2 separate regions of the Homo sapiens genome follow, and region 2 is linked to region 1. The links are contacts of gene promoters, found by promoter capture Hi-C in blood cells and fetal thymus (Javierre and others, 2016). All regions are on one chromosome and are shown on one strand. Each heading gives the region's core, a stretch centred on a gene start or on the middle of the fragment in contact. The rest is flanking DNA. Distances are from core to core; before and after follow the strand shown.

Region 1 (3,922 bases), core at 1-2,500:
CAACACATTGTCCTTGGTCAAGACTACAACGTAGAAAGGAACAAGCTAATTAACTACTTAGAATTCCCTCTCCTAAGAGACCACATCGCCAAAGTGGCACCATGACACAGCTTGGTGTTTTGTTGGTCACTTTAGGAGAACACCATTTTGGAGGCCTTGGGTGGAGCTGGAGATAGAGCCATGGAGGTAGAATCGTGTCGGAAAACCTGGGTTTAGCCCCATTTTGTACTTGGGCGTTTGAGCTAATCGCTTAAGTCACGTAAAACAACAAGACTAATAAAGTCTGGGATACAGACTTTAACACCTCAAGTGCTGCCAAAAGTATTTAGAAGACAAAGCGAATCATAGGCACCCTTCACCGAGCACCTCCTAGACATCAAGAACCATGCTAGGTTCCCTACATTCTTCATTTAATGCCAATAACCCCACGAGGCAGTTATCACCTTCATTCTACAAATGGGCCCCACTCCTACCAATTAACTGGCTGAATCAGGATCTGACCCCGGGCCTGCCAACGCTCCCGCTGGTGGATTGCCCGCCTTGTCAGCTCGAGTTGGCAGGACGTGGGAGTAAAAACCCGGCGCCCCAGCCTTCACCGTGCTGCACGAGGAAGCTGGCTAGGCAGGCATGACTTTGTCAGTCAACCATCCCGCAGCCGGGCCCTGGGCTTTGTTAGCAGCCACTTGGCGAGGGCCCCGGGCGGGTGGGGAGGCGGCGCTTCCTCCAAGAGGAGGTGGGACCCCGGCCCCGACGACCTCGGAGCCGCCCCCGGCCCCGGATCGCCGACGACGTACGTGCAGGCCTGGGGATGGGGCGCTGGCTGCGAGCGGCGCGCCCGCCGAGATGGCTGCGGCTGGCAGGGCGGTGGGCGAGGCCGGTGACCCAATAAAGCGGCCGGGCCGCGGGAGGCCCCGCCCGGCCGGGTTCCGGCACTCGCCGCAGGGTCCCGGCCGGCGGCAGGTTGCGCGCCCCCGTCCGCAGCGCTCGGCGTGAGGGCGGCTCGGGAGGAGGGTGTGAGCGCGCGTCGCCGGGCCGGGACCCGGCAAGCAGCGGGAAAGGCGGGAGGCGGGAGCGCCGGTCGCCCGGGAGCCGCGCGGAGGGGCAGGCGGGGCGGGGCGGGGCGCGGCCGGGGGCCCGGGCGGCCGGGAGCCGCGCCGCCCGCGGCAGGCCCGGGCCCTCGGCCCGCCCCGCGCGCGCGCCCCCGCCAGCCCGGCCCTCCTCCTCCCCGCCGCCCCTCCCGCGCGCGTCCACCGGCTCCCCGGCTCGCGCCGCTCCATGTAGCCCCGGCTCCCCGGGCGGCCGCGGAGGAGGGGGCGACCACAAGATGGCGGGTACGTGGCCCCCTGTTCTCCGGGCGGCGGCGGCTCCTCGAGCCCACCCGCCCTCCGCCGCAGCCCTGAGTGGCTGCCGGGCCGGGGCCGGCGTGGGGTCCCGGCGCGGGAAGGCGCCCCCGGGGCGGGGGGGAGGCGGGCGGGGGGGGGGCGTCGCGCCGGGCCCCGGGGCGCTGACCGGGCCTTTCTTCTCTCCCCTCGGCGCAGACCTCTCGCTGCTTCAGGAGGACCTGCAGGAGGACGCAGACGGATGTGAGTGGCCCGGCCTCGCGGTGGCCTGGCAGTCCGCGGGGAGCGGCCGGGGAGGGCGGGCGGCGGCGAGGCCTGGGCCGGGCCCTGGCTGGCTGAGGGGACGGTGGGCGAGGGCGGCCCCAGGCGGGCTGGGGTGGCGATCGGGGGGGAAAATCTCGCGTCCGTGAGGAAACGGCGCGCCCAGGTTCCGCTGGGGGAGGGAGACGCCCGGAGTAACGCCCAAGTTCGCTTTCCGCCCTTCGCTCTCTTCTCCCGGCGCCCCCGAATCGCCTGCGGGCTCAGCAGTGGCGCGGCTGTTTTGGAAGGAGAAGCGGTGGGGCAGGATTTGAAGTGGGGTTTGGGTGTGTTTCTGCCCCTGGTGTCCCCTTCCCCCGTCACTCTAGGAAGGAAGAGGCTCGCGCGGGAGGTGTGTTTCCTTAGAGTCGCTCTTCCAGGAGCGCCCGGGGGTCAGCCTGGGCCCCGGCTAGCCGTCTGGGCTCCCCGACCCGGTTTTGGATTGTTTGAGGATGACATACCTGTCATTTTACTTTGGCTGGTAGCAGTTTTCAGATGCTCCCGATTTGATTAGTGGATTACGAGAAGGTTAGAAGGTGTGGCCTCCGCAGGAATTACTAGGTTTGGAGAGCATATTTCTTTAATGCGGATGTTCAGAAATCACCCAGCCCTCCTTCAGTGTTAACAGTGCAGCTTTCCTTTGAGGTACTGAAGTTTTTAAAGAGTTGACGCTTTTATTTTTAAAAAGACAAAGTTTCTGACATTTCCTGATGGCGACGGAATTGATATTTAGAAAGGAATTTTTCGTCTTATATGTACTTTTCTAAGCCTCAGAAAATAATTTGGGTCACGATAGAAAAGACAAAAGAGTTAAGCAGGTTTGTATTGAAAGAAGTGACAAATTGCAGTTAACTTAAAATAGTTTCTATTCTTGCTAATCTTCCAAAATAGCGACCCATCAAAAAATCAATAGGTTTTGAGATGCATTTTAAAAATGCAGAGTGTGCAAAATATATAAGCGAAGATCATGGGATACATAAGGGACCAAGAAATTGTTCTGAGTTGAGATGATAACCATAGTAGGATTGTGGTCTGTTTAGTGGAAAGCCTACCGGATGCTGAGATTGACTGTCTAGTACCTGTATAAGTAATTTCAGAGATGGCTGCAGTTTGAAATTACTCTTTTAAATACTCTGTAGTTAATCCTTAGCATTGTCTAATGTGGTTCCCTTACTCAGAGTAAACTTAATTTTTAGATTCCTGGTTGTTTTGAGTAAAGTAAGGGGGATTTACTATTTAGATGGATTATCTGAAACGAGTAATTTATCTTTAAAGTAAATGAACCACATCCAAACTTTTGCTAAGTCTGTGTTTTTAGTGAGGTGGCTCAAAACAGCTCTCTTAAAGGGAGCAGTACTCATGTAGTGAAGGGCAGCTTTAACATTTTATTTAATGTTTACCTTAAGCCACTTATCTGCCTAATAGTAAGTTTGAGATATTATTTAAGGCATCTGTTGATTTCAGATCTCTTGCCAGGTTAGGATTGGAGAAATGGCCCTGATTATGTTACCTCGAGGAGGGCTTTTTATATTTATGTTCGACTTCGTAAATAGAAGATTCATTTATTCAGCAAGTATTTATGACTGGAGCAAAAACTTCTCACTCCTGAAGGATGAAATGCAGTCTCAGTTTCTTCCTTAGCCCCCAAGAAGCACAGTGTAGAGGGGAAGGCATACCTGTGAAAAATTCAACCATGAGTTTCAACACTCTGCCAGGTACTGGGGATGGAGCTTTGAGAAAGATGGGCACAACCCATGCCCTCTAGTGGTTTACAAGCAGTTTTGAATCTAGGTGTACAGTACAGTATTACAGTTACCACTGGAGCCAGGCTGCTCTGTTTGTCTTAGCAGTGTCTTTTTGGGCAGACTTGGGCAACTCACTTAACCTCCCTATGCCTCAGTTTTGTCATTTGTAAGTAGGCATAAGAAATATTACCTACTTCATAGAGTTGTTCAAGGCTGTACATGAGTTAGTGCCTCTGAAGCACTTGGAACAATTCCTGGTAAACAGCGATGATTATGATTATGTTTGCTGTTATGAGAAAAGAGCAAGGGAAGCTTAAAAGAAGAGCAGAGAAGGAAACACTGATGTTGAACCTTACAGAATGAAGGTACTTAAAGATGCTGCCAATGCTCGCAACTAAATTTTTTTTTTTTTTGAGATGGAGTTTCACTCTTGTTGCCCAGGCTGGAGTGCAAAATGGCGCGATCTCGGCTCACCGCAACCTCTGCCTCCCGGGTTCAAGTGATTCTCCTGCCTCAGCCTCCCAAGTAACTGGGATTACA
Region 2 (3,971 bases), core at 726-3,225, 63 kb before region 1:
TTTCTATTTATTTTAATATATAAAACATACACATGCCAGAAAATATAAAAAGTACGAAGTGTTGGTAATCACTGGAAGTAGGTAATAGATGCATGGTTCACTATACTGTTCTCTCTACTTTTATCTACTCTGAAATTTTCCATAATAAAAAGTTCTTTTGACTTAAAAAAAAAAAAACAAACCTGATAACAGGCAGAAATTCAGATCTACACAAAGGAATAAAGAGCACCATGTATGGTTCATTAAATGAGTAAATTTATAATATGTTATTATTTAAATATATTTTAAAGATAAATGACTATTTAAAATGCATTGTAGAAAATATAACATACATAAAAACAAAATGTTTGACAATAGCAGCATTAAAACTAAGAAGGAGTCCTCGGCAAAGCCCGAGTCCTGTCCTCTCGCCCTCCTCCCGGAACAGCATGAGCTTCACCACTCGCTCCACCAACTACTGGTCTCTGGGCTCCGTCCAGGCACGACCAGCGTCTATGCAGGTGCCGGGGGCTCTGGTTCCCGGATCTCTATGTCCCACTCCTCCAGCTTCTGGGGCGGCATGGGGTCCGGGGGCCTGGCTGTGGGAATGGCCGGGGGCCTGGCAGGAATGGGAGGCATCCAGAACGAGAAGGAGAACTTGCAAAGCCTGAACGACTGTCTGGCCTCCTACCTGGATGGAGTGAGGAGCCTGGAGACCAAGAACCGGAGGCTGGAGAGCAAAATCGGGGAGCACTTGGAGAAGGGACCCCAGGTCAAGAGACTGGAGCCGTTACTTCAAGACTATCGAGGACCTGAGGGCTCAGATCTTCGCAAATACCGTGGACAATGCCTGCATCGTGCTGCAGATTGACAATGCCCGTCTTGCTGTTGATGACTTTAGAGTCAAGTATGAGACAGAACTGGCCATGCACCAGTCTGTGAAGAGTGACATCCATGGGCTCCGCAAGGTCATCAATGATACCAATGTCACTTGGCTGCAGCTGGAGACAGAGATTGAGGCTCTCAAGGAGGAGCTGCTCTTCATGAAGAAGAACCATGAAGAGGAAGTAAAAGGCCTACAAGCCCAGACTGCCAGATCTGGATTGACCGTGGAGGTAGATGCCCCCAAATCTCAGGACTTTGCCAAGATCATGGCAGACATCTGGGCTCAATATGACAAGCTCGGAAGAACCGAAAGGAGCTGGACAAGTACTGGTCTCAGCCGATTGAGAAGAGCACCACAGTGGTCACAACGCCGTCTGCCAAGGTTGGAGCTTTTGAGGCGACACGACACTCACGGAGCTGAGACGTACAGTCCAGTCCTTGGAGATTGACCTGGACTCCATGAGAAATCTGAAGGCCAGCTTGGAGAACAGCCTGAGGGAGGTGGAGGCCCGTTACACCCTACAGATGAAACAGCTCAACGGGATCTTGCTGCACCTGGAGTCAGAGCTGGCACAGACCTGGGCAGAGGGACAGCGCCAGGCCCAGGAGTAAGAGGCCCTGCTGAACATCAAGGGCAAGCTAGAGGCTGAGATCACCACCTACCGCTGCCTGCTGGAAGATGGTAAGGACTTCAGTCTTGGTGATGCCCTGGACAACAGCAACTCCATGCAAACTATCCAAAAGACCACCAACCGCCAGATAGTGGATGGCAAAGTGGTGTCTGAGACCAATGACACCAAAGTTCTGAGGCATTAAGCCAGCAGCAGCAGGGTACCCTTTGGGGAGCAGGAGGCCAATAAAAAGTCCAGAGTTAAAAAAAAAAAAAAAAGCCTAAGAAGGAAGAAATGGAAGTATACTATTGTAATACTATACATGAATAGCATAATATTACTTAAAGGTAGATAGCAATAAGTTAAAGATGTATACCATAAACCCTAAAATTTAGAGTTGGCCAGGCACAGTGACTCACGCCTGTAATTCCAGTACTTTGGGAGGCTAAGGCAGGTGGATCACTTCAGGTCAGGAGTTTGAGCCTGGCCAACAAGGTGAAACCTCATGTTTACTAAAAATACAAAAATTAGCCGGGCATGGTGGTAGGTGCCTGTAATCCCAACTACTCAAGAGGCTGAGGCATGAGAATAGCTTGAGCGTGGGAGACAGAGGTTGCAGTGAGCCCAGATAGCACCACTGCACTCCAGCCTGGGTGGCAGAGTAAGACCCTGTCTCAATAAATAAATAAATAAATAAATAAAATTTAGAGTTTATCACTTAAATACCACAACAAAGAGTTATAGCTAATAAGCCAACAAAGAAGATAAAACAGAATCATAAAAAGTATTCAGCTAAACCAAAGGAAGACAGAAGAGAAGAAAAAAGGAATAAAGAAACATGGGTCAAATACCAAACAGGGCAAGATGACAGCATTAATAAAATCATTTCAGCAATTACTTTAAATGTAAATGGTCTAAACACCCTAAATCAAAGGCAAAGATTTTCAGATTGGATTAAAAAATAAGATTCAAGGCCCTTCATGGTGGCTTACGCCTGTAATCCCAGCATTTTGAGAGGCCAAAGTGGGCAGATCACCTGAGGTTGGGAGTCCAAGACCAGCCTGGCCAACATGGCAAAACCGCATCTCTACCAAAAATTCAAAAATTAGCTGGGCGTGGTGGCACATGCCTATAATTTCAGCTTCTGGGGAGGGTGAGGCAGGAGAATCATTTGAACCCAGGAGGCAGAGGCTGCAGTAAGCCAAGATGGTGCTACTGCACTCCAGCCTGGGGGACAGAGCAGGACTCTGTCTCAAAAAATAAAAAATCAATAAGATTCAACTGTATGCTGCCTATAAGAGACAGTACTTTATGTATATAAACACAAGGAGTTAAAAGCAAAATAATGGAGAAAGATACACCATGAAAATCAAAAGAAAGATGGAGTGGCTATATTAGTACCAGATAAAGCAGATTTCAGATAAAATATTACCAGGGAAAAAGAAGATCATTTCATAATGATAAAAGCATCAATTCATAAAAAGAATAATGCTAAATGTTTAGGCACACAGTAACAGAGCTTAAAGACATATGAAATGAAAACTGATATAATTGCAGGGAGGGCCGGGCACAGTGGCTCAGGCCTATAATCCCAGCACTTTGGAAGGCCGAGGCAGGTGGATCACTTGAGGTCAGGAGTTCAAGACTAGCCTAGCCAACATGGTGAAACCCTGTCTCTACTAAAAATACAAAAATTAGCCAGGCAGTAGTGGTGCGCACCTGTAATCCCAGCTACTCAGGAGGCTGAGGCAGGAGAATCTCTTGAGCCTGGGAGGTGGAGGTTGCAGTAAGCCAAGATTGCACTACTGCACTGCAGTCTGGGCGACAGAGGGAGACCCTGTCTCAAAAAATATTTTAAAAATTGCAGGGAGAAATTCACAAATCTACAATTATAGTTAGAGATTTCTACAACCCTCTCTCCATAATTGGGAGAACAAGTAAACAGAAAGTAAGTGTATAGAAGACTTGAAAAACACAATCAACCAACTTGACATATTTAACCCATCACAGTCCACTTTCAAGTAGTAATATATCATGGCCACTCTTGTTAAAAACTCTTGGCAAACTAGGAATAGAAGGAAATGTCCTCAACCTGATAAAGGGCATCTTCAAAAACCGACAACTAACATCATACTTAATAGAAAGACTAAATTCTTTCCCCCTAAGAAACAACTGGATATCCATATGGAAAAAAAAGAATTTTGTTCCATACCTGACACCATAATCAAAACATTACTCAAAGTGAATCAGATGTAAATGCAAAACCTAAAAGTATTAAACTTCTAGAAAAACAATAGAAGAAAATCTATCTGATCTTGGGTTAATCAAAGGATTTTGAGATATAACACCAAAAGCGTGACCTATTAAAAAAAACTGATAAATTAGACTTTATTAACATTTAAAGTTTCTGCTCTTCAAAAGACAGCGTTAAGTGAATGAAAAGCCAAGCTACAGACTCAGAGAAAATATTTGCAAGTCATATCTGACAAATAGCTT

Evidence for each region. Contacts are between HindIII fragments. The CHiCAGO score rates a contact against its expected background, and 5 or more counts as called.
Region 2: a fragment that was not itself captured here is called in contact with the fragment with the promoter of PPP4R1 in region 1 in 1 of 17 cell types (neutrophils); the score reaches 6.6 in neutrophils.

Annotation. Positions count from the first base shown.
Region 1 is chr18:9,611,887-9,615,808 of GRCh38, reverse strand. PPP4R1 (protein phosphatase 4 regulatory subunit 1) reads left to right here and starts at 1,250. Exons shown (of 20, transcript NM_001042388.3): 1 at 1,250-1,331; 2 at 1,539-1,583. The coding sequence starts at 1,325. PPP4R1-AS1 (PPP4R1 antisense RNA 1) reads right to left here and starts at 1,002. Exons shown (of 3, transcript NR_110773.1): 1 at 795-1,002. RefSeq lists silencers at 554-1,063, 1,164-1,433, 1,534-1,783 and an enhancer at 2,054-2,133. The HindIII fragment of the contact is 7,461 bases long and covers 1-3,696 here.
Region 2 is chr18:9,675,952-9,679,922 of GRCh38, reverse strand. It overlaps the pseudogene KRT18P8. Among named protein-coding and RNA genes, the nearest start is that of RAB31, 30 kb to the left of the region's middle. The HindIII fragment of the contact is 6,758 bases long and covers 1-3,971 here.